7 separate regions of the Homo sapiens genome follow, and all the other regions are linked to region 1. The links are contacts of gene promoters, found by promoter capture Hi-C in blood cells and fetal thymus (Javierre and others, 2016). All regions are on one chromosome and are shown on one strand. The core of a region is centred on a gene start or on the middle of the fragment in contact, and the rest is flanking DNA. Distances in the headings are between cores, read along the strand shown.

Region 1 (4,307 bases), core at 555-3,054:
CAAAAATTAGCCGTGGTAGCGGGCGCCTGTAATCCCAGCTACTCGGGAGGCTGAGACAAGGAGAATCGCTTGAATCCGGAAGGCGGAGGTTGCAGTGAGCCGAGATCGCGCCACTGCACTCCAGCCCGGGCGACAGTGCGAGACTCCGTCTCAAAAATAAAAATAATTAGTAAATTAATTCATTAATTTAAGAAAAAAAGCGCAATCTTCTTCCAAAGGCGATCCCAAGGCTGTTGGAGGCTGAAACCGCTAAGTCGCCCCCTACCGCGCGGGTGGCTTCGTCCCGGACCCCTCCAGAGGCTGTGCCACTGCTGGAGGTGCTCAGCGGGGCCGGGACCCGCTTGGGGCGCCGTCCGGGGCGAGCACCGGAGCCCGACTGGGCTGAATGGCAGGTCCTGACCAAGCCACCCGCGCGGCCCCGCCCGCCTGGCGGGATGAGTGACGGCGGCAACAGGTGCAGAGCGGCGTCCGCGGCTTCTCGGGAGCCCCCGAGTTTTGCGAGTCAGGCCCCGAGAGTCAGAGTTTGACTCTAGAACCTTCTTCGCTTTACACCAGTCTTCGGAAGTCGCCCGTCAACCGGCTTCTTCTACCTCAGTAAAGCCTTAAGGTCACCTCAACCTCTCGAAACCCACCAGTCCCAGAGGCCGACTCTTCTCAAGTGGAGGAGAGGGGAAGGCGTGCATGGAGCTTTGCCTGACCGCTCGCTCTCTCCTCCCCAGCCGTCTGAGAGAAGGCGAGAGGGGTCCCAGAACCGAGCCCTCGCTCCGCACGCCCCACGCCCGCCCCGCTGTGCCGTGCGCTCTGCCCCTGAGACGCCCCGGCTCGGAGTCCCAGGGCCACAGCCGAAACTCGCCCTCCCGCGCCCCTCTCCGGCTTGCAGCGCCCGCCCGCACCGCCACCTGCCACCCGAGGCGACGCAGTCCGCTTCTCCCCACCCGCCAGGTGGCAGGTTCAGGGCCGGGGTCCGAGCCTGCTTCCCTGCAGCTGCCACAGCCACCCTCGCCGCCAGGGGGCGAGAGTCCCAGGCAGGACAAGCAGCGCTGCTGCCTTGGCGTGAAGGTGGTTTCAAACTTTAGGCTTCTTTTCCCTACCCCGCGTCTCTGAAGAGCAGAGAGGAAGATGGAAACCGAGTCCGGGCCGGTGAGTACGGCGATCAGGGCCCCAGGGCGCGGGATAGCGGGGAGAAGGAGCAGCGTGGAGCCTGTCCCTGAGGGCTTGGAGGGGCGAGGTGAAGGCCCCAAACGCTCGCTATCTGGTTGGGAAGAAACGTGGCCAGGTGCCCCATCGACCGCTGCCAGGAGCCACCCGCCCGCAGACCTCGTCTGGCTGTGTCATGGGGGTCAGAAAGGCGCCGCCACGGGGCCTGGACTGGGTGTAGACGGGCCAGGGGACCTCAGGCGTGGATGTTTCGGGAGGCGGCGGGCTGCCAGGCACCCAGCGAAGTCCGAGCAGGTAAACCGCTTTCCCGCCGAAATTGGGCTAGGCAGCGTCTTTGACGCTCCCTGCGGCCGAACTCGACCCAGCCGCCCAAGGCGAGGAGTTGCCAGGGCGGTCGACGCCTCCACTCCCCGACTGGTCAGCGAGGACCGGAAGGTCTGAGAGACCTGGCAGGGCCCGCCTGTGGCCCAGGCGGGACCCGGACACTCTAGCCCTGGCTGTGCACCCAAGCCAGTCAGGGTGGACTTGGGGAAGTGAAGGAGGACTGCCCGCACAGGCCCGAGGCGCAGCGGCAACGTGCCATCCCGCCCCGCCCCGTCCCGCCGCCAGCAGCCAATCAGGGAGCGCCGCGCGAGGGTGGGGACCAGCTGCGCACGAGGCCAGCGGCGGGGTCGCTGCCGTTGAGGCTTCCCGCCACTGCTGCTGGCGGATTTGTGGGGCAAAATTTCTCGCTGGCTAGCCTTCTTTTCCCTCCCGCACTTTGGTGGGGAGGGGGTGGATCCTCGTTTCGGTGCCCAAGTTCACGATGACCCGAGAGAACTCGAGGAAGTTGTCGCCGCGGCCATTTCCCCCAGTGCCGCAACTTGCTGGCCTTGGAGGGGGAGGAGCGCCGAGGCAGTGACTGCGACGGTTAGCCCGCCCGTTCCTGCTGTCTTCGTTTGCAAAATAGATGCTAGATCTCGAGGTTGATTCTCAAGGGGAGGGGCCAGTGAGGGCACATTGCTTTGGAGGAGTAGTTTAATAAACTCTCTAGTGCTGGAAGTTTTAGCAAACGGAGGAGCCTTCAAACCCGGCAACAGTCCCCATCTAGGTGTTTCCGTAACACATGCGGAATTATTGCTAGTGGAATTTCAGGCTTTCTTTGTTGTTTAACTCAATGCATCGCTAATTGTTTATAATGAACTTAGATGTTGCCTCCACCTGAGCCTTGCTATTGCTAACATTAAAATATTTTGTAGGCCTGGCGCGATGGCTCCCGCCTGTAATCCCAGCACTTTGGGAGGCCAAGGTGGGCGGATCACGAGGTCAGGAGATCGAGACCATCCTGGCCAAAATGGTGAAAACCCATCTCTACTAATACAAAAAAATTAGCTGGGCGTGGTGGTGCGCACCTGTAGTCTCAGCTACTCAGGAGGCTGAGGCAGGAGAATCTCTTGAACCAGGGAGGCGGAGGTTGCAGTGAGCCGAAATCACGCCACTGCACTCCAGCCTGGCGACAGAGCAAGACTGTCTCAAATATATATATATATATATATATATATATATATATATATATATATATATATATATATATGTATTAGACTGCTGTTATACTGTATTCTTTAGCCTTCAGCCTATTTGGCATATCATGAGCAGGTCTCTCCTGAAGAAATGATTCACTTTTAGTCATTCAACAGATATTTATTGAGCACCTGCTGTGTACTGTCAGTACTTTAGATGCTGCCATGAAAAAAGCAAAACTTCTGCCCTGGTGCATTACATAATAGTGGAGACAGATAATAAACATACTAAGTAAACTATATCGTATGTTAGAAAATGATGAGGGAGAAAACTTAAGCAGAGCGAGCCCACAATAGAGCCTTAGAGAGTGGAGGAGAATGAAGTGAATTGAGTGTGAAAGGTTGTTTTTCTTTTCTCAGGGAGTATCCTTTAGTTTCTCGAGATTGGAAATAAAGCACTGTTTACTTCCGTTCATTTCATCCTTCTCTCAATGAAATATAATGGGGTTTGTCTTTTACTTAAACTTGCGAACATATTAGTACATCTTATTTTCAATAAGAGAATTTCATGAAGAATGATTTTTTAAATTTAGCAAATAGGTAATTTTGACACTGTAAACAAATGGGCAGAAAGACAAGATTACATCTACTAGAGCTGTTATATTATCTCTAGCAATACAAAATCCATAGTTGAAAAATACTAAGCATTCCAGAATTACCCATTCTGAGCATTATATCCTACTGAGCGAAGTGACTGAAGTCACAAATAACCTCCAAGTGCCCAGAGAGAAAGCTGTTAAGATTAGATTCCCAGTTTCTTTCATTGGAAACTACAACATAGTAATTATTAAATGTGGTGGCTTTTCTGTGTTTTAAAAGAAGTATTTACATATTCCCTTATTAGGAGTACATACTTCCTTAAGGCTGGATGGGGAAGAGAGCCCATAAGGTCCAGCCTATAGCCCAATTGCCACTCCTGCCCTAGTCATTTCTCTGTACATCTTGCAAAGATTAATTTAGGGATTGTGATTGTATTGGCCAGAGAAGAAAGAGCAGAACAAATTTGAAAAAGAACAACTTTATTACCTGAGCTGGAGATTCATTTTCATGAGTTTGTTTCTCAGAGAATTGGAATTATGAACTTCAAGCTTTTGTTATTTTCTTTTTCTTTCTTTTTGAGATGGGGTCTTTCTTTGTTGCCCAGGCTGGTCTCGAACTCCTGATCTCAAGCAATCCTCCTGCCTCAGCCTCCCAAGCAGCTGGGATTACAGGCACAAGCCACAACACCCAGTTTACTTCAAGTTTTTTGAAGCACACATTTAGGATATTATGGGGTTTGTCTTTAGGATATTATGGGGTTTGTCTCAGAAGTGTGTTTAGTGTTTCCAGATGGAAAATAATTCACCAGTTCTTGAATTGGTTTCTCTTCAATGTGATTCTCAAGTCTTGGGTTTTTTTTCAGTTATACCTTAAAAGTCTATTATCTTACCATTCTGCAAAGGCTTATACATTTATATATATTTATTAAAATTTAAATTATGTCCTCTAACTTAGAATTGTGAACATGTGGATATGTACTGAGCTAATTCTTTGGAATAAACATTTATGAGCTACAAGTATATAATTTTTTAACAAAATCAGTCCAATCTT
Region 2 (4,307 bases), core at 710-3,209, 490 kb before region 1:
TAATCTTCTGCAATATGAGACCAGAAGTGGGATTTTATTTTTCCTGTATTTACTTGGAATTCCAAAATAAACCATATCATAGTTTTCAACTAGGCCTAGCTCATTAAGTATATTTCACCTTTCTATGAGTAACAGCAGTTCCTCTTCAAAGAGCTCATACTAAGTAATTATGTTCTTAATGAGTCAAAAGCAAAAGTTATTTTAGTCTTAAATATATATATGTAAATTGCTTTTAAAACCATCTGATTTAGAATTTTAGACTAAATATTTGAAAAGATAAGAGATGATTGTATATTTTTAAAACTACTAAACTGATATTTTTACTTTCTATAAAAATATAATGTGAAAATCATAGACTTTGTGGTTTACTTTAGCCAAAGTATAGGAGAGCTATTGAAGACATCATATTTTAGGAAAGCACTTTACATATATATTTTTTCACACCCATTTGTTCACCCAAGGAGCATTTTGCATTTTGGCATCAATGTCACATTGAACAAGAAAAGCTAGTTGCTTCAAAGCACAAATTAAATGGCCATATAAATGTCCAGAATTGTCCTTTACAGGTTTTCCAATGAAAGTAATAATAATTGCATTTGGTTCTTATTAAGGCCATGCAAATGCTGTATTCCACTGTGCCTCAAACTTTTAAGTGTGTGTGAACGTTCTGGGGACCAACATGTAGCAATTACATGGATTAGGCCTGGCACAGGGCCTGAGAATGTGCATTTCTAACAACGCTTCAGGATATATTGTCCACCACAGTCTATGAAATGCTGTACTTTACTATCTAAAATTTGTACATGTTTTGACATAGAAGATGTTCACCATCAATTGTTAAGTAAAGAAAGCAGATTTCTAATAGTATATATTGTAGGATACCATTTAGGAAGAGAAGAAAAGCATTTCTTATATGCCAAGAAGAGAAGGTAAAAACTATTTAAAACAACAGCCAGTCAGAACTATTTCTGCCCACCAGAGGAATGGCATGGTTTCTCTCTAGCCTGAAATACCCGTTGTTTAGGAAAGATGCCTAAGCAGGCTTGGGTGTAGCAACCGAGACGCTCCAGAAAATGGTCTGGAAAGAACCATCAAAATAGACCAAACATTGAATTGTTCCCGACAAGGACAGTCACAGGATCTGGAGCAGGAGGAGGGCTGAGTGAAGAGAATCGTTAGCTGAGAGAGAGAGAGAGAGAGAGAGAGAGAGAGAGAGAGAGAGAGAGAGAGAGAGAGAGAGAGAGAGAGAGAGAGAGAGACAGAGACAGAGAGACAGAGAGACAGAGAGACAGAGAGACAGAGACAGACAGAGACTGCCCAGCCCAGTGATGCAGCAGGTGGCTTTCACTCTTGTATAGCAAGACATCCTCAGGATGAAGTAGCTAAAGGAATTTTGAAAATGGAGATGTGTTGCAGCCATGCTGTGTTCTTCTGTAACATTTTCCAGCCCCCGACTCTACTCCTGGCAAAGGGAATCTCAGGATCAAGTACTAGGAGCTGTGTTCCATGTCTGCATCTGCACAAGATACTAGACACAAGGGAGATCAAGACAGCGGTAGAAGCAGTAAATTGAAGCAAGATGTGACCAGGAAAACTGTTTGCCCAATTTCCAAGAATCCCTGGGGATATGGTGAGGAATAAAAAGTTTTCCAATGTAAAGGAGGTCCTGGGGTGAATTACATGTAAAATTCCCAGAACAGAATGACTCCCACCAGTTATAGGACTTGGAGTCATTTAAGCAATTGATATTTATGTGATGCAGACAAAGAAAACACTGGGAAAAATAGACACCAAAGTGATAACTTTGTTTTCTTTGAGTGGTGGGATTGTGGATGATTTTTTTTTTTGCTTACCTACATTATCTAATTTAGGAAATAAAATGCATTCCTTCAAAATAAAAGTATTTTTAAATCTCACCCCCTCCCCCAATGATGCCACATTCCAGCAGAAATGATATTCAAGCTGAGATGTGAAGAATAAAAAGTGTTATCTGAGTTAAAAGTGGGAATGTCTGGGAGAGGTTTCCATGTGCCAAGGCCCTAGGACAGGGAAGAGCTAGTTGCAAGGAAAGAATGGAGCAGTTCGAGTGGGGTGAAAAAGAGCTGATGACCCCAGCTGAGACTACACCAGCAGTCATGGGAGGAGCACAGAGAGCCTCAGAGGCTGGAAAAGCAGTGTGATTATATTCTTACTGCAATGGCAAACAATCAAAAGATTTTAAGCAGGTAGTGACATGATCTGATTCATATTTTTTAAATATCAGGGTAGGAGAAGAGATGGAAGTGAGAAAGCTGGGGAAGAGTGGAGCCCAGGAAGTTAGATAAGAGCCCTTTGCAGCTCCCAGGCAAAAGGGAACAATGGAGTTAGTGCCAGTGATGGAGTTAGAATTGACAGGTTTTGGAGACACATGGGCTAGGAAACAGAAAATTAAAAAGCAAACAAGCAAGCAAAAATCAAACACATACACACACATAAAAACAGTCTCCAAGGTTCAGCACTTGAGCAAGTAAGTGGTGGAGGTACCCTTTTCTGAGATGGAGACCTGGGAGAAATGGGTGTTAAAAGAAACAGCAAAAGTTCAGTTTTAGAAATATTGAGTTTGAGGTGCCTGTAAAATAGCTAAGGAAAGATAATTGGTAGAAGATTTGATAAATAAGTCATGGATGAGCTGGAAACCACTGGTCTCTAAGTAAGGAGCATATATAATTTACCATCAAAACTAGGACACTTCTGAGAGAAAAAGGATATGCTATTAAGAATTTTGCTGAGACAACAGGCATAACTATGGGAGAGTATTAAGGGAAAAGAGAAAGAGACCTAGAACTGACCTCTGATAAATTCCATTATTTATCATTAGGTGGTAAGTGAAGAAGAAAGAGCTCAAATTGCCCAAACATAGTTTGGAAATTAAATCCCCAGTGCAACAGAGTTGCAAGGTAAGACCTTTAAGAGGTGATTAGATCATGAGGGTTCTGCCCTCATGAATGGATTAATACCATTATTGTGGAAGTGGGTTAGTTATCATGGGAGTGTTTTCCTAATTAAATGAGGAGTTCAGCTCTCTTCTCCACCCTCTCTCATGCCAGTGCTCTCTTGTCCTTCCACCTTCCCACCATGGGATGAGACAGCAAGAAGGCCCTCATCAGATGCCAGCACCTTGATATTAAACTTCCCAGCCTTCAAAACTATGAGAAATAAATCTATTTTCTTTATAAATTACCCAGTTTGTGGTACTCTGTTACAGCAACACACAATGGACTAAGACAAAAGGAATGCTCAACTGCATCAAATATGGTTAGCAGCTCTAATAAGACTGCTGAAAAACGTTCATTGGATTTGGCAATATGGAAATAATTGATAATCTCAGCAAAGGTAGTTTGGAAGAAGATAACGAGTTGAAGAGTGAATACAAACTGAGGAAGTAGAGACAGTAGAGGCAGTTATGTACCACTCTTAGAAGAGTCTGGAAAGGAGAATATAGTTATCTAACAGTAGTGGCAAGGGAATATGAGACAAGGATAGGGACAAGTGAATTTAGTATAAGAGACACTAGAGACTGAAAGATTATAAAAAAGATCCAGAAAAACTTTCTAGTAGAATAAGTCTACCGGAATGTTCATAGAAGTATTGTTTACAGGAGCCAAAACCTGGAAGTAAACCAAGTATCCATCAACAGAAGAGAAGATGAATACACTATGGCATATTTATGCAGTGGAATATTATACAGAAGATGGATGAACTGTAGTAACACAGAAATGTGGATCAATCTTGGAAATATATTTAAAAAGTAAATCCCAAGCAATTACATACCTTATTATGCTCAAAAATAAACTTTTAAGATTCTAAATAAATGCAATAAAACTATGTAAAATCAGAAAAAGGAATTGATGAACAAGGAATTTTAGGTGATGGTCATCTCATGTCAGAGATGCAGGGTGATGACAAGATGGAGTGGATCCTGGAACCTGGGGTTCAGATGAAGATCATTGCAGGTTTCCAGGTTGTGTTTCATGAAGTGGATTTATAGATGATTACTACACTGTAAAAAAATAAAAATAGCCATGAATAGATCAATGTTAGGAGGATTTTATGAATCACATTTATGATTAGTGTAGGTGTTTGCACTCAGGCTTGATGGCCAGGGTGGAAGTATAGGGGAGAAATTAGTTGATTAGTTCTATAATGACCTGAAGACAGTCACAAAATGCTCCCATAAAAATACACAGCTATCTCCAACATAACAGTTGAGGCAGAGGAAAAGGTATTGCTACAAAGACAGAAGCTAAAGAGAAAAATTCTTCTATCTT
Region 3 (4,307 bases), core at 855-3,354, 470 kb before region 1:
GCTAGTACTATATGCTACAGACATACCATCTGTACCAGAGCTTGGGATAGAATAAGAGAGGAGCATCCACCTTCTGATCACAAATACCTCAGCTATAGCAAATCTAGGGGTTGGCAGAAAATGGAGGGGGCACCTCAGAGTGTCTGCATCTGTTATGAACCAAACAGTTCAATCGCAGCTATTAAAAAAGGATGATGTTTCATACCACATAGGTGTTTATTTAAAGAAAAATGTTGGCCATATGCAGTGGCTCATGCCTGTAATCCCAATACCTTGGGAGGCTGAGGCAGGAGGATCCCTTGAGTCCAGGAGCTTGAGACCAGGCTTGGCAACAGAGATAGACTCCATCTTTGCAAAAATGAATTTAATTTAATTATTTAATTTTTTAAAAAAAGTAAAATGCCATTCACAGTAGCTAGCACTCTAGTTATTGGCCATTGGGAAAAATTCAAATTCGTAATGTACCATTTCTTTAACTTTATTATTATTATTCTCTTCTCTTTATAACTCAGGGAAATGTTTTTCTTTTTAAATTATCATTTATTATAGGTTTATTATTCTTCTACATTTCCCAATCTACATAAGCCTATAAGACAACTAAAAGAGATGCAAAAAAAATTTATCATGTGAAGGCTCAGCATTCAATTTCCTTTCATCTCATAGTACCTTTTACAATAAATCTTGAACATGATGCATTTGCATATTCTCCCTGAACAAGGCAGATAGCTTTTGGAAATTTTAGTTTGATTTAGGAAATACCTAACATGTTTTGCCAACCCTTTGTTCACGTGGGTAAAGGTACATTGTTCATGTTCATTTTCAATTACACTTGGAAATGTAGCCATCATTACTAAACTAAGTGTATTTTAATTTGTACATGTGTGAATCACTATCATGCTCAATATTTCAATTTTAGTTGAGGTTAGCTATTCAATTCATGCAAGTCTTTGTTGAGAACCCTAATTTACACAAACCTAGACATTCATTTTATCTCCAAAAAAACTGTGACAAGGATAATATCACAAAGCTTGTGATTTCTAATTGTAACTGTGCAAGGAGGCTGCTGCTCTATGTGTGTGTAGATTTAAATCCTTAAAAAAATCTTCAATGTCACTTTGAGCTGACAAGTATTTTTTATCTGACCATTCCCTGATAATACAAACACATAACCTTCCAACTGCTATTTAATCTCTCACACTTTAGACATATCTATAAGACAAAGCTTTATGAAGCTTAACTTTCAGATCTATATATTAATAACTCACTTCTTTTCCTTGTACTTCCAATTCACTAGTGAATCATCCCACAGTGCCCTTCAGTATAAGCAATAGGAACAATGGACAGTCTATTTCCCTCTCTGCGCTCCGTGTGATGGGTATGCGGCTCTGTCTCAGCATTTACCAAACAAAGATTTGCCTCCTTTCTTCATCAGACCAGACCTTTCTTGATTATTTTTCCTTTACTTGATCAAAGTGAAGCAAAAATTGTAGGTCATCAAAAAAGAGATCAGTCAAAAAAAACACTGCACTTTCCTCTTAATCTCTATCAAATTCAATGTCAAGTTGTATTTGTTTACTTTTTTAATGTGGTTATTAGAAGATGTAAAATTACCTATGTGGCTCACATTTGTGGCTTGCATTGTATTTCTGTTGGATAGTGCTGATCTAAATCCTACTCATTCTCCCTCAGCCCTGCCCTTTCCTGGAAGGCAGAATCCATTCAACCATTGCAGGGGTCCCCAACCAGTTCATGGCCTCTTAGGAACCAGACTGCACAGCATGATGTGAGTGGCACACAAGTGAGCATTACTGCCTGAGCTCTGCCTCCTGTCAGATCAGCAGAGGCATTAGATTCTCATAGAAATACGCATCCTATTGTGAACTGTGCATGCGAGGGATCTAGGTTGGCACTCCTTATGAGAATCTAATGATAAACGTAATGCTCTTGAATCATCCTGAAACCATCTCCACCACCCCCTCCTCCCACAAGTCCATAGAAAAAATGTCTTCCATGAAAACTATCCCTGGTGCCAAGACCGCTGCCCTATGGAATCCTGAGCTTTAGAATTGGCCTGATCACTCCTGTTGGGCAGAGGACAGAGGAATTGCCCATGGCTTGTAGCCAAGCCTGTGTGGACACAAACCTACCTGGGCAGTGTTCCAGGTAAGGAGATGGGAGTAGCTCTGACCCCTTTATTGATTTCCAAGGGACAGAAACTGTGGCCCCATTATAACATCCCACTACTCTATCAGGAACACAGGGGAGAGCAGCCTTCTTTTTAGAAACACAGGAAGAAGATGAGCATGGTTCCTAAACCAAGAAGGAGGCATAGGTAGGAACTTAGCCAAAGTCACAAATGTTCCTTCTTCACATAGATCTTGTCTTGGAAGGGGACACAGATGTGAATAAACCCAGGCAGAGAATAGTCCATCTCCATTATCCGCTAGTAAAACCCATTTCCATCAGAAACAGAAACGGTCACCTGGTGACGTTAGGAAGCTCAAGACCCCATCAAAAAGGAATTTTCTAAATGTCTTCCATAGAAGACTCACTAACTTCCCAGGCTGAAGAGACCAGCACTGTCACCTGTGAACTGGGCTATAAATATCTTGTGAGGAGAAAATAATGCATCCATTTTTAATGGTTTGCAAAAATACTAATTATCAGGATTACCTGGGGGAGCTTTTCAAAAGCCTGGTCTCCACCCTAAACCCACTCAGTAAGGATCTCTGGAGGTTGGTCAATGTGAACCAATGGCTAGAGCCTGCATGATGCTCACCCTTTCTACTAAGCAAAGAGAAATTCTTACAGGAATGAAATGAGGCCAGCTTCTGTCTCTTGATTCTCTAATGATTTTTTATGTTGTAGGGGAAGAAAAGGGTGGTGTGGGACATTGTGCTAAGAACTAAAATCTGGACACATGTTAGGGAACATGTATACCATAAAATGATTCATGGAATATACTCAGCAAGCTTATAATGTATAATATATCCAAACAATATTTGTTGTTAGATATGTTTAGACATAAGTTCTATGTATTGTTCTCACAGTATTTTAATAATACACTAGTGTGTTATTATGATTCTGTTCTTAAAAATTAATACCTGAGGATGTGGTATTATTGCTGGGAGATAATAGCTCCTTGTTGCAGAGCAGAATTCAAATATAAGGTAGTATGAGCATCTACTGTTCTTATCCATTAGGCTCCCTCTTTCCACCAGGAAAAATGTTCTTTCCTGATCCATGTGATATGGGAGTAAGTGTCAATTATAATTATAGGATCTTTCCTGACATCTGGCCACAAGAGTGAGCAAATGATCCAGTCCTTGGCTTCCCAATTATGATATTCCATACTGCAATTGATCCAAGGATCAAACAAGATCAAACCCCGAAGTAGGGGGTCACACTGTGATATCGAATATATGGATCCTGAGTGACTGTTTTTCTTCTTTCTGAGATTTTGACTTGGGAGAACTTTGAAACCTAGAACTTCTCAGAATCCTTTTCATTTGTTCCCAATTAAGTAGGAGCCATGGTTTAGAGGAACTAGCCCAAAATTCAGCTCCAGGGATGGACACAAAGTTTCATAACTATATTCTCATCTGCCTGGCCACAGTGACCATTTCCATCAGTGTAATGTGCAGGATTTCTATTTGGTGACTAGGGTAAAAGGGAACCCCTCTCTTGTTCTGGACAATATGGTGTATCACTGGGACACCCGAGGCTGCTACAGCCATTTGACTACCTGGGAGAAGTCAGTACAAGAATGTAGTCAACACATGAAGGACAGAGCCAAAAGAAACATAGACACGGAGACAGCCTGGATCAAACCTCTGCCGTGCAACCTCTAGTTATGTAAACCATGTAACTCCTTCATTATTAAAGCCAGTTTAATTACATTTTCTTTATGTGAAACTCAAAGTACTCTAACATATAGAATTAAGTGCTAAGAATGAGAAAATAAACCTCTTAAGACAGACTTGGCAGAGAGGAAGTGGGCCAGCAGAAGGCAGTGTGCAATCCAGTGTCCCTGCCTAAAGGTTGGTGATCCCTACCCAAGGGTCGTGTCAGCTGCCATTTATTTCCTCAAATTGCACATAATTTTCCTCGCAGTAAAGAAACTTTTTCCTGTACTGATGACTATTAAAAGGCATGAAAAGTAGAAAAATTTCTCTATTCTATTAAAAGTAGAAAAACGAAAGATAGCAGAGAGTATTGCCTGCTGCGCTCATCAGACATCATGGTCTGATCCCTGTAGGCGTTTGAGTTTACAAACCCTGCAGAAACTGCCACACAACTGATTTAGG
Region 4 (4,307 bases), core at 755-3,254, 360 kb before region 1:
ACTGAGATAATTTACATACCATAAAATTCACTCTTTAAAATATACAATTAAATAGCTTTTAGTACATTCACAAATTATGTAAACAAACATCATCATTATTTCTAATTCCAGAACATTTTCATCACACCAATAAGAAAACTCATACCCATTAGCAGTCACTCCCAGACCCCCACAGCCACTGGCAACCATTAGTCTACTTTCTATCTCTACTGATTTGCCTATTCTGGATATTTTATAAAAATGGAACGGTACAACATGTGGCCTTTGTGCCTGATTTCCTTCACTTAGAATAATGCTTTCAAGGTATACTCTTGTAGCATGTATCAGTACTTCATTTCTTTTATTGTTGAACAATCCAATGTATGAATATGTAATTTTTATTTATCCTTTCATGAGTTGATAGACATTTGGATTGTTTCTACTTTTGACTATTATAAAAAATGCTGCCACAAACATTTGTGTACAAGCTTTTGTGTGGACATATATTTTCATTTCTCTTGGGTAGAAATCTAAGAGTAGAATTGCTGGGTCATATGGTAACTCCATGTTTTTTTAACCTTTTGAGGAAGTGCCAAGCTGTTTTCCAAAGCAGCTGAAATATTTTACATTTCCACCAGCAGGGTAGGATGGTTCCAATTTCTCCACATCCTCACTAACACTTGTTATTATCTGTCTTTTTTATTATAGCCAACCTATTTGGTGTGAAGTCATATCTAATTGTGGCTATGATTTATGTGATCTTAGTGGTTAACGATCTTCAGCACGTTTCTATGTGCTTATTTCCTGTTTGCATATTTTCTTGGAAGAAAAGTCTATTCCAATCCTTTGACCAGTTTTTAAAAATTTGGTTTTCTTTTTATTAAGTTGTAATAGTTCTTTATAAATTTTGGTTGCCAGTCTCTATCAGATATATGACCTGCAAACCTGTTCTGTGGGTTCTATTTTCACTTTCTTGGTAGTATCCTTTGGAGTACAAAAGTTTTTACTTTTAATTAGATTATTTAGAGTCAATGAACATATTAATATGCATCCAATCTCATTAGAGATTAAAGATAAAGAGAAATAAGATTTTTGTAACTTAGAAGATTGGCAAAGATGAAAATAAGAAAAATTAAATTTATCATTAGCAAAGATTTAAGCACTCTCATAAACTCCTGGTGGGGTTTTAAATTGAACAAGTTTTCCTGAGACTATTTGGCAATGTATCTCAAAATCCCTAAAAAACAAAAATGAAACAAAACAAAAAATCTCTGTATCCTTTGACCCAACAATTCCACTTCTAGAAATGTATCCCAAAGAAAAAGTTGAACAACTTTGCAAAAATGGATTTTATTATTGGAATGTTTATATAACAAGAAATTAGGTGAGTAAAATCTAGCAATAGGAGATTGGTTAAATATATTCTGGTAAGCCATATAATAAGATACTGTATAATTATTATAAATGACCATTAATTTTTTTTTATTTTTTAAAGACAAGGTCTTACTATGTTTCCCAGGCTAGTCTCAATTCCCAGCCTCAAGCAATTCTCTCATTTTGGCCTCTCAATAAATGATAATTTTCATCAAGTTTCACCACCTATCATGTCCTTAAGGTCCAGATGTAACATAAATGAATGAAAAGGCTCTCTAGAAAATTGGACAGCATATGCCCCTTTTGGAGAGGGCAGTTTCAATTAACTGATGCCAAGCAAGAAAGTATATGTGTGGTGGTTGTGAGGTGGGGAGTGGGAGGTGTTCTGTGTTGTTAGATTATCCAGTATTTTAAAACATGCAGGACATTGAATTGTACGTAACATTTTCTGAATTTCAAAAGCTGTCTATTGCTTAAAGATTTTTTTAAAAAATGTTCAATGGCCAAATAAAACACATCATTTTTGGACTAGATTCAGTTCAAATGCTTGGAACTCTAATGTAAATACACATTTATTGACACAGAAAGATATCCATAACATATTGTTAAAATTTTAAACACCCTGCTACAAACAGTTTATATAATATCTCAATTTTGTTAAAATACAAGCATATTTACATATATGTATAAACTCTAAACAGTGTCTAAAGGGATATAAATCAAAATGTTATTAGTGGGTAATTTTGCTTTTCTGTTGTATATAGTTCTCTATTTTTGTATTTTTATATTGACCATTAATATTTTATATTCAGAAAATAAATGATACAGTTCTTTGTATCTGTGGTTATAAAGGTAAGAGTTAATAGTCTGGTTTAAAATGTTAAGAATAAACTTAAAATCAAAATCACTAAGTATATAATCTTGCACATGAAATCAGACAGACCCAAGTTCAAAATCAATTATTCCATTAATTACCTCAGTGGCTTTGGGCTTTCTCACCTGTAAAATGCCAGTGATAATACCCGCCATCTCCACCTCAGATCCTATTGGTGATGTAAAAATGAATAAATAAAAATAGAATTAATATCTAAAACACTACATTCCTAGCATCACCAAATCTAAGTAGATAGAAGAGAGAAGGGGGCTTTTTCTACCACAGTTCAAGTCTAGAAAGGAGACAGATGCTCCTCATAGAATGTAACAATGTCATGGAGGCATAATACACAAAAAAAAATTGTTTGTTTTTGCTATTCTATCTGGAGGCAGGAACATCACAGGAGACTAGGAGACTTTTCCCTTGCCACCTCCACTCCCAGAATCCAAAGCTCCTCCCTGCTCCACATCTCACTCCCCATCTAGCAAGGACACCCAGTGGAATGAAGCAGAGTATGGCTGACAACCCACTGCCAGAAATAGCATCAGATGAGGCAGAATCCATATTACGTTTTTGAGAATTTTTGGGTGGGTCCTAAGTGTGAGTAGAGCTCTGGGACAAATAAAATAAACTAGAGAAGCTACTTCCAAGGATTGGATTTGACCCTGGAGTAAATAAATGTATAAATATTGTTTGAGAGTTTGTCATCCTTTATCTCCTCTTCCCACCTAACTGTATATCCAGTAAAGACATGGATTTACCAAATAGAATTCAAGTAGATGAAGAGGTACACTAGTAAAATCAACCAATCAGCTGATGTAAGGTGGGTTTTGTTTCTGTCTATAGAACCTCTTTTTCACCACAAAGGGCTTAACACCTGCATTCCACTATTCCTCCTACCAGCAAGTTAAATATAACAGAGGGTAAAGAAATTTTTTCAGGCCATTGTAGCATCATTGGAAACTTGCCTTCAAATGACTTCAGGTACCTCCTCCTCGAGTGCCCAGTTTTAAACCCAGGGAATAATTTCATCATATCTGGTCCATGGAAATAGCAAACTCTTTAAGATATTTTTGATGTAGTAACCCATTTTCATTAGCTTTGCTTTTTCAATTCACAATAAAAGAAAACAATAAGTGTTTTTTTCATATCTTTACTCTTTCAGTAATGTGCAACATAAACATAATAGTGTTAAGAAGTCAGAAATAACACAGAAGCTATAGGAGATGTTTATATTTGCAAAATTTCAACAATTATCTTCTCTAGGTTTCCCCAAATTAGCATATTTGTTAATCAAATTAATTAAGAAGCTTTTCAAAATAAAAGCAATGCTTTAAATAAATATATTCTTTCATAACCATAGAACATTTAGTTCTGTTGGAGGTAACAAACATTACACTCAAGTACTTTATGAAGACATTAGGGTAAAAATTACCTAGATGCAATTATAAATGTACCCTAATTAGTCATTTCTTTTTGCATGTATGCTTTTCTGTGTGTGTTAGGGTTATATCATAGATGTGTGGTAACTGGTTAGCTCTTAAATTATCACAAAGATATTATCGGACCCACAGAATTTATATCAGCTCAATGTGATGATATGATATTGTTTGAACAATATCTTTAAATTTAAATTTAGTACCCTAAATTACATCCAAACAAAGCCAACACCTCTAAGCTGCCATATCTGTTATAGAAAATGAGTGCTAGACTCTCAGCTTGGAAGAATGAGACCTTCCTACAAATCTCGAAATTATACAACAATATTATTGTCACATCAAAATCCTAATTGCAACAGAGCTTTCAGTGTGTTTCAGAGTACCACACAGGTAGGTATAAATTCACTTATGATCAGCTTTTCTAGTGAAATCATATGTTTAGTAAATGACTACAGAAAACTTCCTAAAAATTGATTTTATTTAATAAATATTTTTTAAAGTTTTCTGACTGAAGAAATGACCTTGCTAATCTTTTTAGAAATTCTCATCATCTGTTTAATCTTTCATTCACTTTTATTTCTACTCTGATTCTTAGGAATTTTTCTAATCTATATTTAATCTACCAAAACATCTATGCTTTG
Region 5 (4,307 bases), core at 994-3,493, 340 kb before region 1:
GAAATGGAAAAGGAAAAGATAACACAGTCCTCTAAAGCCTGCTTCAAATGTGAAGGATCTTCTAGCCTGAGATTCCATGAGGCTGCCCATTCAGTGGCTCCTCTTCTTTCTAGGAGATGTGTTCCCTGCATCGTCACATGCAGTCTCACTTCAAGAAGCCTGAATGAGTCCCGTTTTATTTTAAATGAGAAATGACAGGCTTGCTACAATTTTAACCACACCATTTGATTGCTTGATAACCAAGGCAAAATAGAGTTTAAACCATGTCCTGGCTAAGGCTTTCAAGCTTCTTGCAGAGAAAACCAGAATCAGTCAAAAGGATAGAAAGAATAGGGGTTATGGCTGATGTCTGCAGTGGGAAGAATGATTAATAAGTTATGAATTGACTTTGTGACTTTGGAAATGTCCCTAACTCCTGTGGGCAGCAGTTTCCTTTTCTCCAAAACATGGGGATTTGACGAGACGTTCTTTGATTTGACCTCATATGCTAAATGTCTACTGTTTATTAATTGGGGCTCAGGTTAAAATTGCTATGTTAAAATTCATCACCTAATTGCTTACAATAATAGAGACTGTCTCGTGAAAGATAAAAAAGCAATTAAAGTGCTATGATAGTGGAATAGCAGAGTTCTGTGGGAATACGTACAGGGATACCTAACTCTGTTGAAGATGGGAGGCAGGAGAAGGTGAGGTGTCCATGAAGGCATCCTGAAGACTCCGTACCTGAGCAAACACCTGAAGTACAGATAACAGTGCCCCATGCAGTGTGAAAACAACAGGATGGGGGCTCCCAGGGAGCAGGGGTACAAGCAGGGTTACACACTTTCAAGGAAGAAGGGACAGTCCATGTGACTACTCAGCATGAAAGCATCCCTGGTGCCACTGAGGAAGTGGAGAAAGTTCCATGTGGCTGGAGTAGTGCATGGAAGAAGAAGGCAATGAGAGACGAAGCTGGAGGGGAAGGAGGGGAGCTGAGAAGACAGGCCACAATGAGTTTCAGAAGAGAAGTTAAGAAGGAGCTGTGGGAAGCCCTGGAAGGGCTTTAGGAAGGGAGAATGGCCATGACCAGCTTTACATTCAAAAAGATCACTCCAGCTCTATGCTATGGAGTGGGAAAAGGATAGAGGAGAAATGACTTTTCACTAACTCAGGTGATAAATGAAGATAACTAAGGTGACGGCTATGGGAATGGAAGTTTCCTAGGGAGGTATTAAGGAGGTTGACCCAACGGTGCTTGCTAACCAATTAGAGGTGGAGAGTTAAGAAAAGGATCAAGGATAACCCCCAGGATTTAGGTTTGGATAACTCTGAGTTGTCATTTATTCATTCAAGCAGGAATTCCAGAGGTGTCACTGAGGATAAGCAGGACATATGGATAGGGATAAGCACAGCTGGAGACATGCCGACCTTGCTGTGGCTGAGTGACCTCCCAGGTACAATGCCTGGGAGGTAATTTGATATATAAACTATATGGGAGGATGAGCAGGGATCATCAAGAGATAAAGAGAGTGACACCTGGGCCAAAAATACACACTTGAGATTTGACAGCATGGTGAAGATAATCAAAACCCTTTGCATGAACTGTGTCCCCCAGGGACAGAAGGTGGAGTGAGAAGATAGCCTAAGCTAGAACCCTAAGAAATACCAGCATTTAACAGAATAGCAGAGGAAAGGGAACCTGCAAACGATTCTGGGAAGAAAGAGTCAGAGATGTAGGAAGAAGAGAGAAGGGGGTGGTGTCCCAGAAATCAAGAGAAGCAGTGTTGCAAGAAGTGGGGAGTCAGCCTGGGAAATATCACAATATTCTATCTCTACAAAACATAAAATTAGCAGGGTGTGGTGGCATGTGCATGTAGTCCCAGCTACTTGGGAGGCTGAAGCAGGAGGATTGCTTGAGCCCAGCAGGTTGAGGCTGCAGTGAGCCATGATCATGCCACCACAGTCCAGCCTGGGTGACAGAGCAAGACCCTGTCTCAAAAAAATTAAAAAAAATAAAAAGTAGGGAGTGCTTAGCCACGTAGAATGTTCCCAACTAGTCAAAAAAGATAAAAACTGGAAAAGTGTCCATGAGATTTTGTGACAAGGTGGTTATTGGTGACCTTGGTGAGAATGATTTAATGGAGTGTCGGGGAAGAAGAAAGATTAAAGTTGGCTAAGAAGTGAGTGGGAGGTAAGGAAGTGGATTCGGCAAGTATAAACAACCCTGTTAAGAAGTTTGACTATGTAGGCGAGGAGATAGAAAGAGGAAGGAGATGAGCTGAAGGAGGGCTGAAAGTCCTTTAGAAAAGCCCGTTTGTATACATATTGTTGATGAAAAAAGCAAGCCAAATTCTGTAAAATATTTGAAGAGATTTATTCTGAGCCAAATGTGAGGACCATGACCTGTGACACAGCCTCAGGAGGTCCTGAGAACATGTGGCCAAGGAGGTTGGGTTACAGTTTGATATTTTAAATTTTAGGAGGACATAAGACATCAATCATGGTTTGGTAGGGAAAGGCAGAACAACTCGAAGCAGGAGACTTACAGGTCATAGGTGGATTCAAAGATTTTTCTGATTGGCAATTGGTTGAAGGGTTTAAGTTATTATCTAAAAAACCTGGAATCAATAGAAAGGAGTGTCTGGGCAAAGATAAGGGGTGTTGTTGGAGACCAACGGTCTTATTATGTAGATGAAGTCTTATAGGTGGCCATCCTTAGAGGCAATAGATGGCAAATGCTTCCTATTCATACCTTTAAAAGGTACCAGACTCTCAGCTAAACTCTTCAGGATCAGAAAAAGACCTGGAAAGGGAAGGGGCTTCTCTAAAGGAGGTAAATTTCCCCCACAAGAGATAGCTTTGCAGGGCCATTTAAAAATATGTCAAAGAAATATATTTTGGGGTAAAATACTTGATTTTTCTCAGGGCCTGCTATCTGTCATGTGATGCTATACTGGAGTCAGGTTGGAATTTGGTATCTTATTGCTACAAAGAGCCTACTGTGTCTTAAGATCTCTGTTTTAATTTTAAGGCCGATCAGTTCAGCCTGAATTCCAAAGGGAGGAAAGTATAATGCAGCGTATCCAATTCCCTTTTACCATTGAAACTGCCTTTGCAAAATTATGACTGAGACAGTGAAAGAGATCCAACTTAAATGACTCCATCTTGCCTCTAACCTCCAAGCTGGGCATAGGCTGAACTAACTTTGGGAAGAACTTATAGTTTATGGTTTAAAACAAGAACAATAACATCCCTTTCCTAAAATAAACCTCCTTCTTGACTACTAACAGTAGCCACAAGATTAGAAATTATGGTTTAGGAGTCATGCAGCTGGAGGCTACAAGATTCTGACCCTCCCTAAACTGCTCCTAAGATCAGTACTTGAGAAGTTTTGCAGACCCTGCACTTGACGGATCAACTGGCACCACCATATCAAGAAATTGGCCCATCTGATCCTGTGATGCCCACCCAGGAACGGACTAAGCGCAAGAAGACAGTAACGCCCCATGATTTCCTCTCCATAATTTCATCTCCGACCCAGCCAATCAGCAGTCCCTGACTCACTGCCCCTCCCCTCCCACAAATTGTCTTTAAAAACTCTGATCCTGGGGAGACAGATTGGAGCAATAATAAAACTCCAGATTCCCGCACAGCTGGCTCTGTGCGAATTATTCTTTCTCTATTGCGATTCCCCTGTCTAGATGAATCAGCTCTTTCTAGGTAGCATGAAAGGTGAACCCAACTGGGTGGTTACACCATCAGGTTCCCATCATGGCCTGAACTAGCTTTTTGGAATTTTTTGGAATCCCCTTGTCCCCATAGGACAGGTCCATTCAGTCGGTTAAGGGGCTTAGAATTTTATTTTTGGTTTACAATATAAATGCAGTTAGGCTGAACTACGAATGAAAGGAAAAAGACAAAATACAAAATGGAATGACTAAAAGCCTCTACTTCTAGTACTGATCGTTGTTCAAATTTGTGTTTCATAGCATCCTAATTTTTTTCTCCTTATTTTAGAGCCGCTTTATTTGTGTGAAGTGAGAAATTTACTCAGCAAAATAAAAAGTACATAAATTTATATGTAAGTAAATCTACCTAAACTTAAAAGTAAAAAAGCAGGGATGACTACCTCCAGAAAATGAAGATTTTTCACACTGTCCAGCAGGTGGCTCCCCTGCTTTGGACTTAGGTAGGGAGTGCCTGCTGTCCACAAAAAGCTTGTGCTCCAATGATCAGAAATGGCTTCTAAAACCATGTGGTTTATTCCTCTGCTTCCATGTAGATTTGCACCTAAGTCATTCTAAGCATATAAAAATGACCTCAAATAG
Region 6 (4,307 bases), core at 1,088-3,587, 330 kb before region 1:
TATTTTGCACTAATTAGCCAAACAATAACAAGATTCTACAAATGTGTCTAGGAGTATCTTTTCAGATACCTCGTCCACGGATAAATATATCAAACTTAGTTTATAACCCCCAGATAGATGCTATGCCTTCTAAATGTATACTCTACACTTTATAAGGCTTAATAATATTTTCTTTTGTGTATAAAAATAATGGTACTGACATATGAGATTCAAGCTGTTTTTCTAGAAGTGATCCATCCATTCTCTCCCTTCTGCCACCCACCTTCTTCCTGGTAATCAATGATATCCATTGTAAAGCAGCTGGCTAAGATTCCAAGTGAGTTGAGGGCTTACTAGGTTGAGCGAGACTAAACTGGCTGCCACTGGAATAAGACCCTCAATTTTGGCTTCATCCCTATTTTGCCCCTCCCAGTTGCGTTCACCAAATGTTTCTGGCATGACTGTTAACCGTAACTGTTTGCCAAAATTCCAACATTATTTTTAAACGTTTAATAGACAAAAAAATTGAAATAAACTTTACAACAAAATGAAAATTGAAGAAGTAAATGTTGCCTAGAGGAGACACAGAATAGATTCTGCTGTAACTCCTCAGTTGATAAAGGACAGATTGTAGGTCTGAACAGTAGAACTGTGGCTGTGGAGGAGGGGGCATGAGGAAGGAATATGAAAGGAGTATAGCCTTTGTAAAGTTTTTGCTAGAGGCATGGCTCTTGAACTTCCTCTGTCCCATCAAGAAATGGCAGCTAGCAATGTCCAGACTAAAAGCCAATGAATAGCAAAGCTGTCCAAGAGAAACAAGAGGAGGCTGGCTGGGCTCTCAGGGGTCCTGGGTCTGGTCTTCTGCTTTGGTATTGTTGTTGTTGTTTTGCTTTGCTTCCGTGATTCCCAATCGTACCTGTCCAAGGACTCAACTGTATCCATTCGCTCAGGGGTGATCAGGCCCTGGGAAGCTGATTCATGCTAACCAAGCTCATAGGAGATGGACAAATAAAAAAGGAAGTTAACTGATTTACTTACAAAGAGAAATGTGACTACTGGGCAGATGGAACTAGTTATACCACTTGGTCAATTCATTCTATTTTCCACTAGAAAAGTGTACCTGGGAAACCAGATTGAGAAAAGAGAGTTGTTTTGTAAATATAGTGTTGTAAATAAATTATTCTCAAGATACACTCTCTCGCTGTAGCTTTCTGCACTAACCACTGACTACTGACAGTAGGCATATTCTGTCAAGGTGATTGAAATATTCATGCTAGATGGGCAGGACACTCACTCCCTTAGATAAGTAAAATAATAAATATAAAACACTTGGTAGGATACTTGATACATAGAAAGTGCTCAGTTAATACAAACCATTACTATTATGGTGCTGTCAGTATTTTGACAATATAGCATAGTGGGATGACAACATGGCCTTTAGAGTTAAATCCTTGCTCCATCACTCACTTCCTGTATGCCAATGGGAAGGTTCTTAACCTCCTGAGCCTCATTTCCCCTATCTGTAAAATGGGTATAATAAGAGTAAATTTACAGGGTTATCCTTAAAAGTAATTAAAATGTTGTGTAAAAATCACTTGATTATTGTAAGCACTGAATGTTCATTTTTAATAATAAAAATAACAAACACTCATATAGCATGTGCCAGATACTGCTTTATATATATTTACTCATTTAGTCCACATTATAAGGGGTAGTTGAAGAACTTGTCACTGGTAGATTGTATTTACCAATATCTGCTCCTCTTCCCTGAGAAGGTTTACATTTGTCCTACTCCATGAAATCAGACTTGACTGTGGCTTGCTTTGACCAGTCAAATGTGAGTGGAAGGGACATGTGACTCTACTGGGCAGAAGCTTTTAAAGACCATTTTTGCATCCCTACCTCTGGGATTGTAGAAGTATTTGCTGGGATGGAGTCCCCATTAGCCTGTGTTCCTGAGTGACCATTACTTACCTGTGATGGACATGTAGTACAAGCAAGAAATAAGCCATTGTGTTATATTGTAGTAGATTTTCAGATTTTTGTTACTATAGCACAACCCAGCATACCCCAACTGATACAAGAGCATAGAGACAAAACAAAATTTTCCCAAAGACACAGAGCTAGGAAGTGTCTGGCTGCAGCGTCTGTACACTTAATCACTTTGCCTGCTGTTTCTCAATAATTGATAGTATAATAATATCAATATTAAGGATGGTTTATTATTAATGCATTATTGTTGTTGTTTGGAGGTCTGTTTCTACACTTTGTAAATATACTTTTTTTTCTGAATACTCAAAAGGAATCCTAGCCTTTCTCTAGATTCTACAGCAACAACAGCTGGCAGATGCCAGAGACACCACTGGAAAAGTTCTCAATAGACAATGTGGATGATACTGGGCATGTTCCTTCTTTATATACCCTCAGGCAGCCCCCAAAGGCATGGTCACTATGTCTGTTGGAAGAGCCTGGTTTGAACATTCACACTAACAGCCCCCTCTCCACAGTATCTCATAGAATGATTTTAAATATCTATGGCCAGTAAGTGAAGGGTAGCCCACTTCTCACTCTCACTCAGCTTTCAGAGATGGATGCCTCTCCTCATACTTCTTTTCCCATTAGCCCATCATCTGTTTCCTTTCTTTTGTCTCTCAACAATGAACAGAGACTTCAAATGTGTTTTCAGGCTCTAATTGAAAGCGTATTTCTACACTGACATCCATGTAATTTCCTCTGTTGTAGCAAGATTCCCCAGAACTGTAAGGTCCTGAAATTCGGGAATTCAGTGAGGGAATCTGCCTGGGTTAGAAACATAACTACACACGGAGAAGTGAGAAGCTTCAATCTCTGCTCTTCCCACGGAAATTGAAAATGTTTTAGATAAAAGCAGAAGGAGCAAAGGCTTAAGTAGTGATAAAAAGCAAAAGCGTTATGGGGAAAAGTAATAGTCACATATACTAAACATAAATTTATAAAAGCAGCCCAGAATCATGGCACACATTGGAATGCATTAAATTATAAGTTGGAAATCTATCCAGGAAAAGTGTAAATACATATTTAATAGGAATGACCATTGAAGAGGTAATAGTTATATTCATTTTTTATTTATTGCCTGTTATTCAACAAGTAATCAATGAAAGTCATGAATAAATAAGAAGGGCAGCTACTTCTTAACCCTTTTATTTCTCTTTAAGCTCTAGTGATTACCTACTTCATAGTTTTTCCTTTGTAATAAAATATTTATTAATTATATTTCTTTAATATTATTTTTATATATCTCTACTTGATACTTCTCCAGCCTGCTAAAATTGATTTTTACATAAAACTTTTAAAAACACAAAGTAATAAAATTTAGTTTCTTAAAATAGCCAACAGGACAAGTTAGAAAAATATATATTGGGAAAGCTCACTAAAATGCTCCCCTTGGGTTCTTTCTAATTTCAGTTTTATAGATGTGATCACCTTTACAATGCAGTTCTTTTTGTACTTAAAAAGTCAAATCACTCTGGATAGAGTTCAAGACTTTAGATGAATTCCACTTCATTGCAAATAGCATTTTATCAGTGATATAGTGTAATTCCACATCTTGCTCCCAAGAGATCTTCAGAACTCTCATGAGTGAAACACTTCCAAAATTACTAACAATGTACTAGAATATGTTGGCTACGTAAGTGAAGTTGTAGTATCCCTTTCTGAAAGCCTTAAAAAACAGGAAAAATTTCCATTTTGAGATTTTAATATTATGTTAACAACCAAATGTCTATAGTTTGAATGTTTGTGTCCCTTCCAAAATTCATGTTGGAACTTAATCCCCAATGCAATAATATCAAGAGGTAAGGCCTTTAGGAGGTGATTAGTGCCCTGTAAAAGGGCTGGAGGGAACTAGCTAGGCCCTTTTACCTTCTTTTGCCTTTCTTTCCCTTCAGCCATTTGAGGAGACACCGTTCCTCCCCTCTGAAAGACGAAGCAAGAAGTCACCATCTTGGAAGAAGAGACTGTGCTCTCACCAGACACTAAATCCACTCCTGCCTTGATCTTGGATTTCTCAGCCCCAAGAACTGTGAGAAATAAATTTCTGTTGTTTATAAATTACCCAGTCTCAGGTATTTTATTATATCAGCACAAGAAGGACATCATGGAGAAGAAACAGAGGGAAAGGTCTTTTAACATGTGAGGGTGGAATGGAATGGAGTTATTTTGATCCAGTGATTGTCTTGAAAAGGTAGTGAGGACTGAATCATCCTATCATCCTAAATAAACACAATGGCTATGTAAGGAGACCAATTTCATGTACAATAGTGAAAAAGAAAGAAAGGAAGAGCAAATTG
Region 7 (4,307 bases), core at 1,039-3,538, 280 kb before region 1:
TTCATAACACTTTTTCCTTGTCTCAAGCTTAAAGAGATATTCAACTTAAATGTAAAAATGGCATAATATAAAAATCCCTCAGTGTCTTATCAACACCTAAACTGGCAAAAGGCAAATTAAAAACATGTTTTACATCTAACTTTGTATCCAAGGTGAGGCAGAGACTGATATTTTCCTGTAGTTTAATCAAGGGAAAATAGGCCCTTTAAGTTCTATTAAATTATTTAACAGCCACAAACAGATGCAATAATTCATTGTTGGCAAAACAAATCATTTTCTCTTCTTTCTCAATGCCAATAAAGCAAACATTCACAGGCACTTAATCAACATCCTTCCATAAGGCCAAACAATACAACCGTTTTATGAATGACAAAGGAAACATACATTAATAGGGTGACAGAATAATGCATCATTGATAAGCCAAAGATTTGGGAAAGTTTAAAAAATGATTCTGAAGGATATGGAAAACAAAAATTTACCATGATTCTGAATGTGCATGTCATTTCATTGAATTGACATTTATCAAGCAATTGGTGGAGAGAATTCTGTAAGAAGAATTAAGTTATTTAGACTTGAAAAGCTTTCTGACTTATTTATTTGGTCTGGAAAGTTGAAAGCCTTACTCATCCTGGATTGAGAGTACCCCTTGGACTAAAGAAGTTTTTTTAAAGAAGTTTCCTAAAGTATTCTGGCAAGGTGGCAACTAAACCAATCCAGAAAGGACTACCACCAAAGAAAATGAAAAACTTAGATTAATATTATTCTGATTTGCTAAAAATTTCCCTTCCTTCAAATAGAGTGGAGCTTTTCTCTCTATCCTAATCTTAGAGGATGTTGAGTGTGTCCATTATTCCCTACAATGCAGTCTACAGAATGTAGGTTTGTGTATTTGCATAGTCTATGTTCTTGAAGACTACATAAATCTTAGCTGCCCCTCAGTCTTATTCTGTATTTCAAAAATCCTAATCCCTTGAATTTTCTGTCTCCACAAGCTTCTGTCTCCATAAGCTTCCCTATACCAAACGGTCCACTGAAATTATTTGCTCCAACAATTCATTTGCTGAGGATAAATGGGTGCTCTCTTGTCTGCAAAACATAAAGACTTTCATTCAGTCTTTGCTTTAAATTAGTTAAAATCCTATAGAAGAAGTACAGTCATAAATGAATCACAGTTAATAATTAATACAATTTTGGCAAAGTTCCACAAAACTAAAATAGTACTCTCCTTTTGGCCCTGGAAACAAATTTTACTTAAATTTTCAAACATACTAAGACTATAACAATGGTGCGGTTAGTGGGAATCAATAGCTTCCTAGATTTTGTAGTTAAATTTGACCTCAACAAAATGAAAATTATTAAATTATATAGAATTTCTAATAGATTATAAAGTGAACATTTTAATTGTGGCTAAGCCTTAAATTACAAGCATATCAAATAGAGAATAAAAACATAAAGTTCACTGTTATTTGCACTGGTAATATGGACAAAATCTATTAATGCCTAAGACAGGATAGAAATGAAGATTTTTTTAAGTTGCAAACTAACCTCTGTTAAATTCCCGAATTAAGGAGCTCAATCTGATGAATAAAATAGTAACCTAGTCAGTAAATCTAAGTCACATTTGACTTTTGATGAGCTTATGGAAGGTAAACAAACTAGGATATAAGGCACTATAATGGAACTTGGAGGACTAGGGACTTATGTTTTAGTTTTGTTAATTGCTCCATCCTTAACACCTACTATTATTATATGAACTTTCTTATTCACAGGTTTCTTGCCTGTCTCCCAGAGCTCCCTGAGAGTGGATATCCCCAGTACCTGCCACCATGCCTGGCACCTCTCAAGCAGTCAATAAATACTTGTTGAATAAAAGTTTGTAGAAATCCCATAGCTATGTACTATAATGATTACTAGCTTATTGAACATTCCTATGGCAACAGAACGGGCCCTAAGAGGTGAAAGCAAGATTGGAACCCAGATATCTGACTCCTGGAGTACTTGCTCTTAACCAGTACTCCAGGAGTTCAATTCTGTGGGAACACTATCTCCACATAAGGCTTCTGCCTGAACATTGGATTTTACACCCAAATTGGCTTTTCTATTTCAAATCATCAGAGAGGATAAAAATACTTCCCATGAAAAGCTGATGGAACACAGTATACAAATTTAAATAATGGTATGAACCCTAAATATGATGGCTATGTTTCTTTCTTAGAAAACTAAGTTTACAAATATGTCATTAGTCATGTGTGTAAAAAGAGCAGGTAGCAATCATTTTATCCTCACTGACATGAAAAACAGCTCTCACATGATTGGTTTCTCCATGTCAACATTATTTTCCTCTTTTCAGTATCTGAACTTTCAGAATCTCAACAGTAATGATTCAGACAAAGCATTCAAATTAATCAATGCTATCATACTTGTACAGCCAAGTGACCTTTCTCTTCTCCTTGCAAAGTAAACAGTTAGCTTGACTTTTAATACATTCACTTTGAGTTTGCTTCTGATTATGTTGTTTTGCTGGGTTCTGGTTATTCTAGGACACAGTTATTACTGTGCAGACCACTCACTCTCCCTTGAACCTACTTATCAGCCTCCTCCTTGCTCTCATTTCTGCCTCCTTCTTCTCGGTTTCCATCTGTGCTCCATATTTATTCAAGGTAGCATTTAAACCCAAGCATAATATATATGTATGAGTGTATAAATTTATTTAAGGATATTTTAAAAAATTGAAAATAAAGAGGAAAAAACTCAGTAAAGTATAGTATTAAGTACTTAGTATAGTATTAAGTAACTATACTAAAAAATTTCCAGCTATTAAATGAGACTGGAACCCAGATGTGTCTCATCTCAAGACTACATTCTTTCCACTACATCAGTGGTCCCCACAGTGTGATCTTTGGACTGCCAGCAACAGCATCACCAAGGACCTTGTTAAAAATTGCAGACTTTCAGACTCTACACCCACTGGATCTGGGGGTGGGGTTCAGAAATTTTGGGTTTTAATAAGACAAGGGTGATTCTGATACACCCTTAAGTTTTACTGCATTACATCATTGGTCCCAAACTTACCTGATTATAAGAATCACCTGAGATAGCTCATTGACTTAGTATATTCCCAGGTTCTACACATCTGATTCAGTAGGTTAAAGGGGGGAGGCCAGGAATTTATTTTTTTTAACAAATGATACCCTAGGCTCACCCCCAAGTGATTCTTATGGTCAGGAAAATTTGAAAACACTGCACCAAATCAGAATATTCAACTTCATACACTTATGAAAAAAACTAGACATTGCATTTAATTATATGATGGCTCCATGTTAAGAATATAAGGATACTGAAACCGTGTTTTTTCAGCACTTGAATTTTAATTCCATTGTTAGTTCAGAAAAAAAGAGGAAGGGTATTGCAATATAATAGGGAGTCACCACTTTAAATGTGTTAAGAAATATTATTTTACATAAGCAGTTCTAGAGAAGTATATATAATTGAGTTACGTATAAATTGTAGGTAACTGAGAAAAGTCCAACCTCCATTCAAATATACAGAAGTTAATAAAGAAGCTTTATTTGCATAATAAAGGATTTCTTCCTTTAAGAAAAAATTTATCACAATTGTCTTGTATAAATTTGGAGCTCCCCTAGAATAGATAAAACTTGTCTTTTAATGCACAAAATTTATCAGAAAGGATAATCTTTGCCATTTCAAAAAAATAACGTGTAAATGAGACAAATAATTTGAAGGGCAGATTTGGAGCAGTCTGGGGCTTCCTTTGAATTTCACTTTATTTCCTGGAATTAGGCTCCAGAATCTTACCATGTCCTAAACAATTCAAATTTCTGACTAATGAATTGTAGCAGTTCAATGTACTCAGATGAAGAGGAAGGGAGCCGTCATTTATTAAAGTCCAACCACTGCCGTGCTAGACAGGATGGAATACATTTCTTCTCAGTATTGTGTAATGTGTATGGAGGAAAAAGTAAGAATCAACGTACCTATTGACCCTTATAATACATTTGCAGCCAGGCTCAGTGGCTCACACCTGTAATCCCAGCACTTTGGGAGGCTGAGGCAGGCAGATCATGAGGTCAGGAGTTCGAGACCATCCTGGCTGACACGGTGAAACCCCATCTCTACTAAACATACAAAAAATTAGCCAGGTGTGGTGGCACATGCCTGTAATCCCAGCTACTCAGGAGGCTGAGGCAGAAGAATTGCTTGAACCCGGGAGGTGGAAGTTGCAGTAAACCGAGATGGTGCCATTGCACTCCAGCCTGGGCGACAGAGCGAGACTTGTCTCAAAATAA

Evidence for each region. The method cuts DNA at HindIII sites, captures the fragments that hold promoters and counts their contacts. A CHiCAGO score of 5 or more calls a contact.
Region 2: a fragment that was not itself captured here is called in contact with the fragment with the promoter of BOLL in region 1 in 5 of 17 cell types (M1 macrophages, naive CD4 T cells, fetal thymus and 2 more); the score reaches 8.7 in M1 macrophages.
Region 3: a contact is called between a fragment that was not itself captured here and the fragment with the promoter of BOLL in region 1, in 1 of 17 cell types (M0 macrophages). The highest score is 5.6, in M0 macrophages.
Region 4: a contact is called between a fragment that was not itself captured here and the fragment with the promoter of BOLL in region 1, in 6 of 17 cell types (neutrophils, activated CD4 T cells, naive CD4 T cells and 3 more). The highest score is 8.8, in neutrophils.
Region 5: a contact is called between a fragment that was not itself captured here and the fragment with the promoter of BOLL in region 1, in 15 of 17 cell types (activated CD4 T cells, megakaryocytes, monocytes and 12 more). The highest score is 12.2, in activated CD4 T cells.
Region 6: a fragment that was not itself captured here is called in contact with the fragment with the promoter of BOLL in region 1 in 2 of 17 cell types (activated CD4 T cells and non-activated CD4 T cells); the score reaches 6.0 in activated CD4 T cells.
Region 7: a fragment that was not itself captured here is called in contact with the fragment with the promoter of BOLL in region 1 in 5 of 17 cell types (activated CD4 T cells, non-activated CD4 T cells, neutrophils and 2 more); the score reaches 7.0 in activated CD4 T cells.

Annotation. Positions count from the first base shown.
Region 1 is chr2:197,782,816-197,787,122 of GRCh38, reverse strand. It overlaps BOLL (boule RNA binding protein), which reads left to right and starts at 1,804. Exons shown (of 11, transcript NM_033030.6): 1 at 1,804-2,067. RefSeq lists an enhancer at 399-628. The HindIII fragment of the contact is 5,410 bases long and covers 1-3,807 here.
Region 2 is chr2:198,274,584-198,278,890 of GRCh38, reverse strand. No RefSeq gene overlaps it. Among named protein-coding and RNA genes, the nearest start is that of LINC01923, 98 kb to the left of the region's middle. The HindIII fragment of the contact is 5,349 bases long and covers 1-4,307 here.
Region 3 is chr2:198,256,739-198,261,045 of GRCh38, reverse strand. No RefSeq gene overlaps it. Among named protein-coding and RNA genes, the nearest start is that of LINC01923, 120 kb to the left of the region's middle. The HindIII fragment of the contact is 1,740 bases long and covers 1,235-2,974 here.
Region 4 is chr2:198,147,464-198,151,770 of GRCh38, reverse strand. PLCL1 (phospholipase C like 1 (inactive)) reads right to left here. Exons shown (of 6, transcript NM_006226.4): 6 at 1,908-4,307. Among named protein-coding and RNA genes, the nearest start is that of LINC01923, 230 kb to the left of the region's middle. The HindIII fragment of the contact is 3,070 bases long and covers 470-3,539 here.
Region 5 is chr2:198,127,681-198,131,987 of GRCh38, reverse strand. The region is part of intron 5 of PLCL1 (phospholipase C like 1 (inactive)); the gene reads right to left. Among named protein-coding and RNA genes, the nearest start is that of LINC01923, 250 kb to the left of the region's middle. The HindIII fragment of the contact is 3,910 bases long and covers 289-4,198 here.
Region 6 is chr2:198,108,869-198,113,175 of GRCh38, reverse strand. All of the region lies in intron 5 of PLCL1 (phospholipase C like 1 (inactive)), which reads right to left. Among named protein-coding and RNA genes, the nearest start is that of LINC01923, 260 kb to the left of the region's middle. The HindIII fragment of the contact is 964 bases long and covers 1,856-2,819 here.
Region 7 is chr2:198,061,612-198,065,918 of GRCh38, reverse strand. The region is part of intron 1 of PLCL1 (phospholipase C like 1 (inactive)); the gene reads right to left. Among named protein-coding and RNA genes, the nearest start is that of PLCL1, 260 kb to the right of the region's middle. The HindIII fragment of the contact is 2,555 bases long and covers 1,011-3,565 here.